Regions from separate parts of the Homo sapiens genome. Here region 1 is linked to region 2. The links are contacts of gene promoters, found by promoter capture Hi-C in human tissues and cell types (Jung and others, 2019). All regions are on one chromosome and are shown on one strand. Each heading gives the region's core, a stretch centred on a gene start or on the middle of the fragment in contact. The rest is flanking DNA. Distances are from core to core; before and after follow the strand shown.

Evidence for each region. Contacts are between HindIII fragments. The study calls those that stand out against the background at their distance.
Region 1: a contact is called between a fragment that was not itself captured here and the fragment with the promoter of WFDC1 in region 2, in 9 of the 25 tissues and cell types used here (H1 embryonic stem cells, IMR-90 fibroblasts, adrenal gland and 6 more).

Annotation. Positions count from the first base shown.
Region 1 is chr16:84,251,121-84,255,538 of GRCh38, reverse strand. No RefSeq gene overlaps it. Among named protein-coding and RNA genes, the nearest start is that of KCNG4, 13 kb to the right of the region's middle. The HindIII fragment of the contact is 8,191 bases long and covers 1-4,418 here.
Region 2 is chr16:84,292,622-84,297,090 of GRCh38, reverse strand. WFDC1 (WAP four-disulfide core domain 1) reads right to left here and starts at 2,213. Exons shown (of 7, transcript NM_021197.4): 1 at 1,976-2,213. The coding sequence starts at 2,119. It overlaps LOC124903734, which reads right to left. Exons shown (of 6, transcript XM_047435022.1): 5 at 3,456-3,574; 6 at 2,253-2,758. The coding sequence ends at 2,253. The HindIII fragment of the contact is 18,601 bases long and covers 1-4,469 here.

The DNA.
Region 1 (4,418 bases), core at 163-2,662, 41 kb after region 2:
GTGGGTTATTAGGAGCCATCAGAAAGGACCAAAGAGGATGGAAATTGTAGAAGCAGCAGCAGCAACTTTAACATGACCACAGGTTCTTTGACATTCCTCCCACTGAGAAGTGGAGCCTGGGTCCCCTCCCTTTGAGAGTGGGCAGGCTTCTGACTGCTTAGACACAGCAGACATGACACTATGTGACTTTTCAGGCTGGGTCACAAAAAGCCATGCAGCTCCTACCTTACTCACAAGGCACTGACCTGTCATTTCAGAAGTCTCACTACCCATGGAGGCTGCCATGCTGAAGTGGCCGCAGAGAGGTGCTCTGAGCAACCGTCCCAGCTGAGCCCAGCCTTCCAGCCATCCCTGCCAATGTGTCAGACACAGGACTAAAAAGAACACCTTAGAAGGGGATCCTCCAGCCACCGCCTCATATACTAGAGTCACCCTCAGCTCTGGGGCTTCTGGCTGAGACCCTAGACATCATGAAGTAGAAAAGCCTTTCTTGTTGTGCCTTGCCCAAAGTCCTGACCCACAGAAGCCAGGATTCTCTCTTTTTTAAAAATTGGTAATAAATAATCATTATTTTATGCCAGTGTTTTCAAGATGGCTTATTGCACAGCAAAAGATCACTGTGACAGAATTTGGCACCTGGAAGTGGGGACTGACCTATACAAACTTGGAGCAGGGCTCAGAGGTTGCTGTGCTTGCATCTGAGGCACCACCATGTGCCATGAGACCAAAAATCTCTCAAAGATCCCAATGATCCCAGTCTCCACCTTCCCTTCCTGGGCCTCCAGGAGATGTGTTCTACTAGGAAAGGGCATCAAAATATAATTTTCAAAACATTTTTTTAAATGGGGCCCAGCATGATCACTCACACCTGTAATCCCAGCACTTTGGGAGGCCGAGGCAAGTGGATTGCTTCAGTCCAGGAGTTTGAGACTGGCCTGGGCAACATGGTGAAACCCTGTCTCTACTAAAACAAACAAACAAACAAACAAACAAACCAAAAAAAAACAACAAACTTGTCCCATGAATATAGAATGAATGAGTATGTGTCAAAAATCCCTCATTCTCATAAGTGAAAGGACCAAGAACACTAAAGCTGGTGACCATCCTGAGTATTCACAGGCATGGGAGAAGAATGCTGGGACAGGGATTCTGGGTGAGACACAAAACTGGAGAACATTCTTCAGGGCAATAAAACCATGACCTTGGAGGTTTCTTCACTAACAGACAGCAATCAGACTCATTTCTACCAGACAAAAATTTGCAAGTTAACATGTTAACGTCAGACTCCGGGGGCCCTACTCAACAGTACAAAAAGAGTCAAACAAAGCCACAGTTCCCCCAGAGAATTAAATATAAATAACTCCCGAGCTGGCCTGTTCACAGAAGCTACAGTGTGACATTGAAAGGATGCACACACAGCCGTCTGCTTTGCTCCCAAGTTTTAGATCCTTTTTCCTCAGGAGAGTCCTGGTAGCAGAAACTCTTCCTTGCCCAGGCACATCAGACACAAGGGACCCCAACACCCCTCCGCCAACACTCCTCCAATTCCAACATCCTGAACGTAGATGCCAATCTCTGCCTATGATCTCCTGTCTCTCCACCTCGCCCCTGTCTTCCTGGAGACCTCAGGCTCCCACCCCTCCTGGCTTTCCAAGACCCCCAGACCTCCCTTGACCCCACTAGGCACCCCTAGCCCCCAAGATCCAGGACCGTCAAGCTTCCCAAAGACCTACCAAAAGATGGATGATTCTGAAAACATGCAAAGTTTCCAAATCATGAGGAAAAATAACCTGTTATTAATATAGATTTTGATATTTAATATATCCATTTGTTCATTAGTCAATTTTGTACCCAAAATATTTCATTACATTGAAAAGCCACATGTCAGCTTCCTTGTCACATTGGAAGTGACCTCTCTAAAGCAGGTACAACGTCTGCTGAGGAGTCAGTGCCAATCATCCATTAAACAAGGTCCTCATAGCCAAAAGATTTGCAAAGCAAAACAATAAATATGTACCCACATCTTTGCAGAGCAAACCAGTTTCTGGATGTGAAAAGCGGGTGCACATAAGAAGGTTGATAGGCTGTGAGATGAGGCCTTCAGGAGTAAGACCGCCTGAAATGGGCCAGCTGCTCCCCATCACTGTGCCCTACTCCCAAGACTCCTATTCTCATCTCCTGCCATTTGGCCTTCTTGTCCCATCATTGTCACCCCTGAGTAGACTCCACTCCTGTGAACAAGGCCGGTGCAAAACACCCTGCACCATGCCAAAGACTCCACTACAACCCCAGTGTTGCGCATGATGGACAAAGTGCCTTTTCCATCAACTTCTCAAAGGTGCTGAGCAGTTCTGCAAGAAGGGAACCTGCTTGGCCCTCCTTCCCCCAAACTTACTGGAACAACACTCTTTTCCTTGGACCGCTGGTGTCACTCATACTCAGAAATGGCTCAGCAGATGGCAAGTCATTGAGAACAGACGCACAGCACAAAAGTTTCGCAGGAGGGCACCAGGGAGTGGGGGAGAGTAGAAAGATGAAGTGGGTGCGGAGGAAGAAACTAACACCCCCCCCCGCCCCCGACACACACACACACACACACACACACACACACACACACACACTGTTCTGCAGGAAATAATTAGCAACTGACAAGGAATAGTTGAAGGCAGTCTACCGCTCTCAACGCTGCCCCAGTGGGGTCTTCGTGTGCTGGGCTACACAGACTCACCCAGGCTGTTCTTTGGAAACCCTGGGAAACTTTAAAAGGGTCCCTACCCATCACAGTCCAGGACACGCCTGGGACCAGCCCATTTCCATATCCAACAAGACCCAGATCCTGGTTCCTTCCCTGCCTGTCAGCCAGGACCCGGCCTTCTGTGGGAAGTCCTCTTCCCGGGTTTCCCTCCAGGCCTCCCATCTCACAGGACTGAGAGGAAATTCATTGCTTTCCCCACAGTTTTGCCTTCTGGATTGCCCCTCAATTGCCTGCATCTCCCTCTTCCCTCTCCACTGGATCCTGACTCCCCTCACCTCCTGGCCTCCACCCTGTCCCCCCACCTCTCACCCTACCTTCCTTTTCATTCATTCACTCCCAAACTTCCAGCTTCCTGGGCTCCCCTCCCCTCCACACTGCAACTTCCCTCTGTTGCCATAGAAACCGCCCTGAAAGGTGACAACTGACCTTCCAATTACCCAGAGGCCTGTGCCGGCTGTGCCTCCCCGTCCATTCTTAGATGACCCCCATTCTGCACAGACCCCCCTTCTCACTGCACCTCTCTGAAGGTGAGTTCTGATCCGGGGACAAAGGTGCTGGGGAAACGCGCCTTTGAACTCCAGCGCTGTGCAATTCTGTGTGCTCCGGACTCCAAATCCCCACGTCTCCAGTGATGCCCTGAACCCAGCATGCGCAAGGCCAACATCCTCTGCCCCAACTTCTCCTCCCCCACGGCTTTCTATGTGAGTGGCTGCCCCCTTCATCCACTCTGCCACACAGACTGGAAATCTTGGGGCCACAGCAGCCTCCTCTGGCCCTTCATTCCCTGCAGCCACCCAGTCCCAAGCCCTGTCAACATTTATTCTTCCTGAAACACCCCTGCATTCCTTCCACCGCCTCCTTTGTTCAGGTTCTTATCTCACTCACACACTCTTTTTGTGGTCTCTTAACTGGGGTCGCTGTCTTGTCTCTGCCTTCATCTGGTCTTCAAATCCCACCCTGGATGTATCCTCCCCAAGGTACGTCAGATCTGGCCAAGTACTTCTTGAATTCTTTCCATGATTCTGCGATGCCTTTGGAATAAGATCCAAGAATCCAACCCAGGATTCAGCGCCATCTTTGCTCTAACCCCATTTTCCTTTCTAACCTAATCCCTGGCCGTCCTGTGCCAGCCACACAGACCTGCCCCACCCTATACACCTCAACCCTCACTCCTGGATTCCCCTCAGCCCAAATGCCTGCCCATAGGTCCATGCCCAGCTCAATGCCCCTTCCTCCAAAAACCTTCCTTGGATTCTCCCAATGCTAACCAATCTCAGTTTTTCCCTGTCCTCCCCAGACTCAATGGTTACACTCCATCCTCATTACTCTAAATCCATCTTTGTTATGACGGACTTGGTTATGAATCTGTCTCCCCATGTGAAGGCCTAAGGCCAGGGATGTGTCTTGTCTTCTTCCTTTTTTCTTTTTTGAGATAGGGTCTCACTCTGTCACCCAGGCTGGAGTACAGTGGTGCAATCATGGCTCACTGCAGCCTCAACCTTCTGGGCTCAAGTGATCCTCCCACCTCAGCGTCCTGAGTAGCTGGGACCACAGATGTGCACCACCAAGCTTGGTTAATTTTTGTATTTTTTGAAGAAACAGGGTTTCACTATGTTGCCCAGGCTAGTATTGAACTCCTGGCCTCAAGCGATCCGCCCACCTT
Region 2 (4,469 bases), core at 964-3,463:
CCTATGACATCTTGGGACATGGTGGAGATAAAATCAGATGACATATTGGCAATCTCTCTATGGTTGTAGAACCAAAGTGCTACTAACTACAGTTGAGGGTTAAATCATCCTGTTGCACCAGAGAAGAGCATGGAGGAGTCAATAAAATCTGAGAAGAGTCTCTCACCCCTCCTCAATGCCTCCCCTCTGGCCAGGTCTGGTCTCCCAAGCAGCTCTTAGATGCACCACTTCTGCCTGTGAGCCTCGGCTCATGCTGAGCCTTCTTCCAGGAATTTCCTTCCTCCTCCTAATTCCTAATCCTTCCCCAAGATCCAGTCAAGGTCTCCACCTCCTCCAGGAAGCCTTAGGTGACTACACCATCTCACATGAGCTTTCCCTTCTCCAAGCGCCTCATCATGTCACTCTACTACTCTTTCCACTTCTCGAAGTCCTCCTGTCTCCCGCCACGAGCATGTGCCGAACATGGAGAATATGAGCCCTGGAGGCCCAGATTTGTCTCAATACAGTTTCAGGCACCCCACTATGCCTGGGGTCATTAATCATTCTCCCTTCCCTCTTCTCCAGCTGGCAAACTCCTATTTATCCTTTAAAGCCACAGGTCCACTGTCCCCAACCCTAAAAACCCTGTCTGACTCTCCTGGGGAAGAGCTGCACACGCATCCCGTGCTACCACTGCAGCCGCTCATAATTCACCCACAAGAATGTACCAGGCGTCAACTTAATGGCAGGCACCAGGGGCACACATTAGTGAAACAGAACCCTGCCCTACCCCAAGGAACCTACATGCTACCCTGTTAGGCAACACCAAACAAAGTCACAATTATTTGATTGAAAGCTGCCAAGATGCACTGCCAGCTTGCTATGTTGCAAAGACGTTCTACATACTGAGACATTCAATCCTCACACAGGTGCTGTGGGTGCCAGCATTACCTTCTTGAGCCCTCTGTGTGCTGATATCGTCCTGGCTCACTCCGTCCCTGCGGATCTGTGATCTCTGGGGGGTGGGAGGAACCAAAAATGATAGCCTCCTCCACCCCATTCTCTCTCCTAGTTCCCTTCCTGCTTTATTGCTTCCTCAGCACTTGCAATCTGCACATACTAATAAATGAGATCTCTCTCATTTATTCTTTGCTGCCCCCAGCCCCCCATTGAGTTCCCCAGGCAGAGATGTGAGGCCTGTATCCCCACAGCCTAGGACAGTACCTGGTAAACAGTGGCGACCCAGACATAGTTGTGTGAAGAAATGCATCCCTCTGTCTTTTGCAGATGAGATTGCTGGGGTTCAGAGACGTCAAGCAGCTTGCCTGAGAGAAGCCACGCAGCTAATGAGCAGCAGAGCCCGATTCACACCCAGACATCTGGCCCCAGGGCATGTGTTTCTTGCCACTCACTGCCTCATGCCTTCTCTTTGTACTGCCATCGTTTGTCACCCAACTGCCTCTGCACCTCGGCCACGCCACCCTTGAGGATGGGGGCTGGTACCTCCTTTATCTTGTATCCACAGGACCCCACAGAGTGCCTTCCCCAGAGCGGTTTCTGCTAAATTCTGTTTAACAGAGTGTATTCATTCTGTTTGCTGAATGAATAAACAACCACATGAATGCATAAGTGTATTTCACAAACATTTGGTACTGATCAGGGAGACGGAATGCTCCGTTTAAATCCTGGGGTTCCGAAATGAGATGCTGTCTTTCAGGAGCAAGCATACTTTTGTAACAAGGCAAAAGTAAGGCACGATTCTTTGGCACATTTGTGATGTGTCTTTTGCCTCTTGATTCACAGATAAGGGTCCTTTTTTGGGGGTGAGCCCCATCTGCCCACCACACAACTCAGACACACACGGATAGGAAGACGCCTGCCTTGCCACGTTTTGGGGGAGCACTTACAGGAGAAGGCAGTGTCTAGGGATCGCCTCTCCTCAAGGCTGACTCCCACCCACACAGGCTGCCCCAGCCTCCCCATCCCAGGCACTTACACGGGATTTCTCGGCCAGCCTCGCAGGCAATGCCCGTTTCCAGATATTCTTGGCAGAGCCGGCGTGGAGGAGAAGTAGCAAGAGGCACAGAGCCCGGATGATCTGCCTCCTGCAGCTGCCCGGCCCCACGCCGGTTAAAGGCATTTCCTCCCTGGGCAGCGACCTTCCAGACGCACACAGAAGAGGGGCCCCCCTCGCTGCGTGGGCCTGTGAGTGGGGACAGGAGCGTGCACAGTCTGCTGGACTTTCTTAGTTCCACCCAGCAGGGTCCCTCGGATCATGTGTCCGCGTCCAGCACATGCCCCTTCCTCGATGGTGGCTGGCCTGCCCGGTTATTTTTAGCTTGCCCTATAACATCTGGCCCCAGACGCTCCAACCAGGGCGTCTGCAGCCCAGGCAGCTCAGTGGGCGGTGGCAGCAGGAGGAGGGGGCACCGGCTTGCTTGGAGACGTGGCCGGGAGTGGCCTGTCACTCTCCACTCTCCATAATGAGCACTTCCTTGCAGGCTGGGGCGGTCTCCTCCCAAGGAGGTGTGCTTGACACAGGGCTCGGGGCTGGACATGCAGGGGAGTGCAGCCGGATGGGTGGGGGCTCGGCTGCTACCTTGTTCACATTTCGAGCTGGGCTGACAAACTATCTGCCTATAAAAGCTTCTTTGAAAGAGGCTGCTGGACTGGCACTGGCCAAGGGTGCAGCCATGAAGAGACGACTTCCACCCTTGCACCCGCCGGGGTCCTCCTGCCTGATGTGGGCATGTGGGTAGTTCCTCATAGCGTGTGTTTCCTGTGAGATTTAAAAGAAATTGAGCACATAAAGCATTTCACACACATAAGTGTGCTGTCACTGTCAGCCGGTGTATCTGCACATGTGCATTTATGTGTATGCGTGTGTGCACGTGGGTGTGCATGTGCACGTGTGTGTTTTACAGGAATGTAGCACAGCGGGCTCAACATTTCACAAACTTCATATTCCCTTGTCTGTTCTCAGCACTTCCAAGACAGATACTGGTTTTTTGTTTTGTTTTGTTTTTCGAGACGGGTCTTGCTCTGTCACCCACGCTGGAGTGCAGTGGTGTGATCACAGATCACTACAACCTCTGCCTCCCGGGTTCAAGCGATTCTCCTGTCTCGGCCTTCCAAGTAGCTGGGATAACAGGCATGTGCCACCATGCCTGGCTAATTTTTGTATTTTTAGTGGAGACTGGGTTTCACCATGCTGGCCAGGCTGGTCTCAAACTCCTGACCTTAAGTGATCTGCCCGCCTCAGCCTCCCAAAGTGCTGGTATTACAGGTGTGTGAGCCACCACACCCGGCCCCAAAACAGACACTGTTTTGATGCCCGCTTTACAGATGAGGAAACAGAGGGGGCTGCCTGAGGTCATGCAACAGCAGCAGAGAGGAGGCTGGAACCCAGGTAGGTCAGACCCTGTGGCACCCCCCTAGGCGAAGCAGAAGGGACCCAAGCACTAGGCTTGACGCACCTGCCTGATCCCAGTTCAGCCTCTGCGAGATGCTGGAAAGCCTCTTGCTCATGGTCCTCAGTTCTCTCATCTGTGAAATGGGCATGTGAAAGTCTCTGCCTCTTGAGATCGATGTGGGGCTACAGGAGAGGGTGCCAGCTGTGCCCAGCACTTGCACAGAGTGAGTGCTCCAGAAAGATTGGTTCCTCCCTCCCTGGGGACCCTCACCCCCCACCTCCTGGCCAGCACAGCCTTCAGAATGCCCTGGGCAGGTATCATCAACCCCTCTTGGCCTTTTAGTGAATGACAATAGTGGCAAACACATATAGTCTGTGTAGGTCGGGTACGGTGGCTCACACTTGTAATCCTAGCACTTAGGGAGGCAGAGGATGCCTTGAGCCCAGGAGTTCAAGACCAGTCTGGGCAACATAGTGAGACCTCATCTCTACAAAAAATACAAAATAAAAAAAGTAGCCCGGCGTGCTGATGCACACCTGTAGTCCCAGCTAATTGGGAGACTGAGATGGGAGGATCACCTAAGCGTGGGAGGTTGAGGCTGCAGTGAGCTGTGATGGCGCCACTGTACTCCAGCCTGGGTCACAGAGCAAGACCCTGTATCAAAAAAAAAAAACCTTAAAAGCCATACAGTCTGTGTGTTCGGCAATGTTTGAAGCACTTCCTGCATTTTAATGCTTTTAGGTCTCATATTAGCCTTATAAGCAGGTGCTGTCTAGGATCCCATGCACAGAGAGGTTAAGACACTTGCCCAGTGAGCAATGCAAAATTTAAGTTCACCATCAGAGTCCTGTAAACCCAGGAGCCCAAGCGTGAGAGTCTTTTTACATTTTAGACCCTAGATGCCTCCTTTGCCTCCCGCTAGGCCCAGCCCTGATCATTACCTTGCCCTAGATTCTAGAATATTCCTTCATTTCTTCATCCAGAAACTACTGGCTGAGCCCTTATGGGGGCATGGTCCAGCGTGCTCCACTCCCTCTTCTTTCAGCTTTATGGGACGCAGTCTCAATGCCCCTCCCT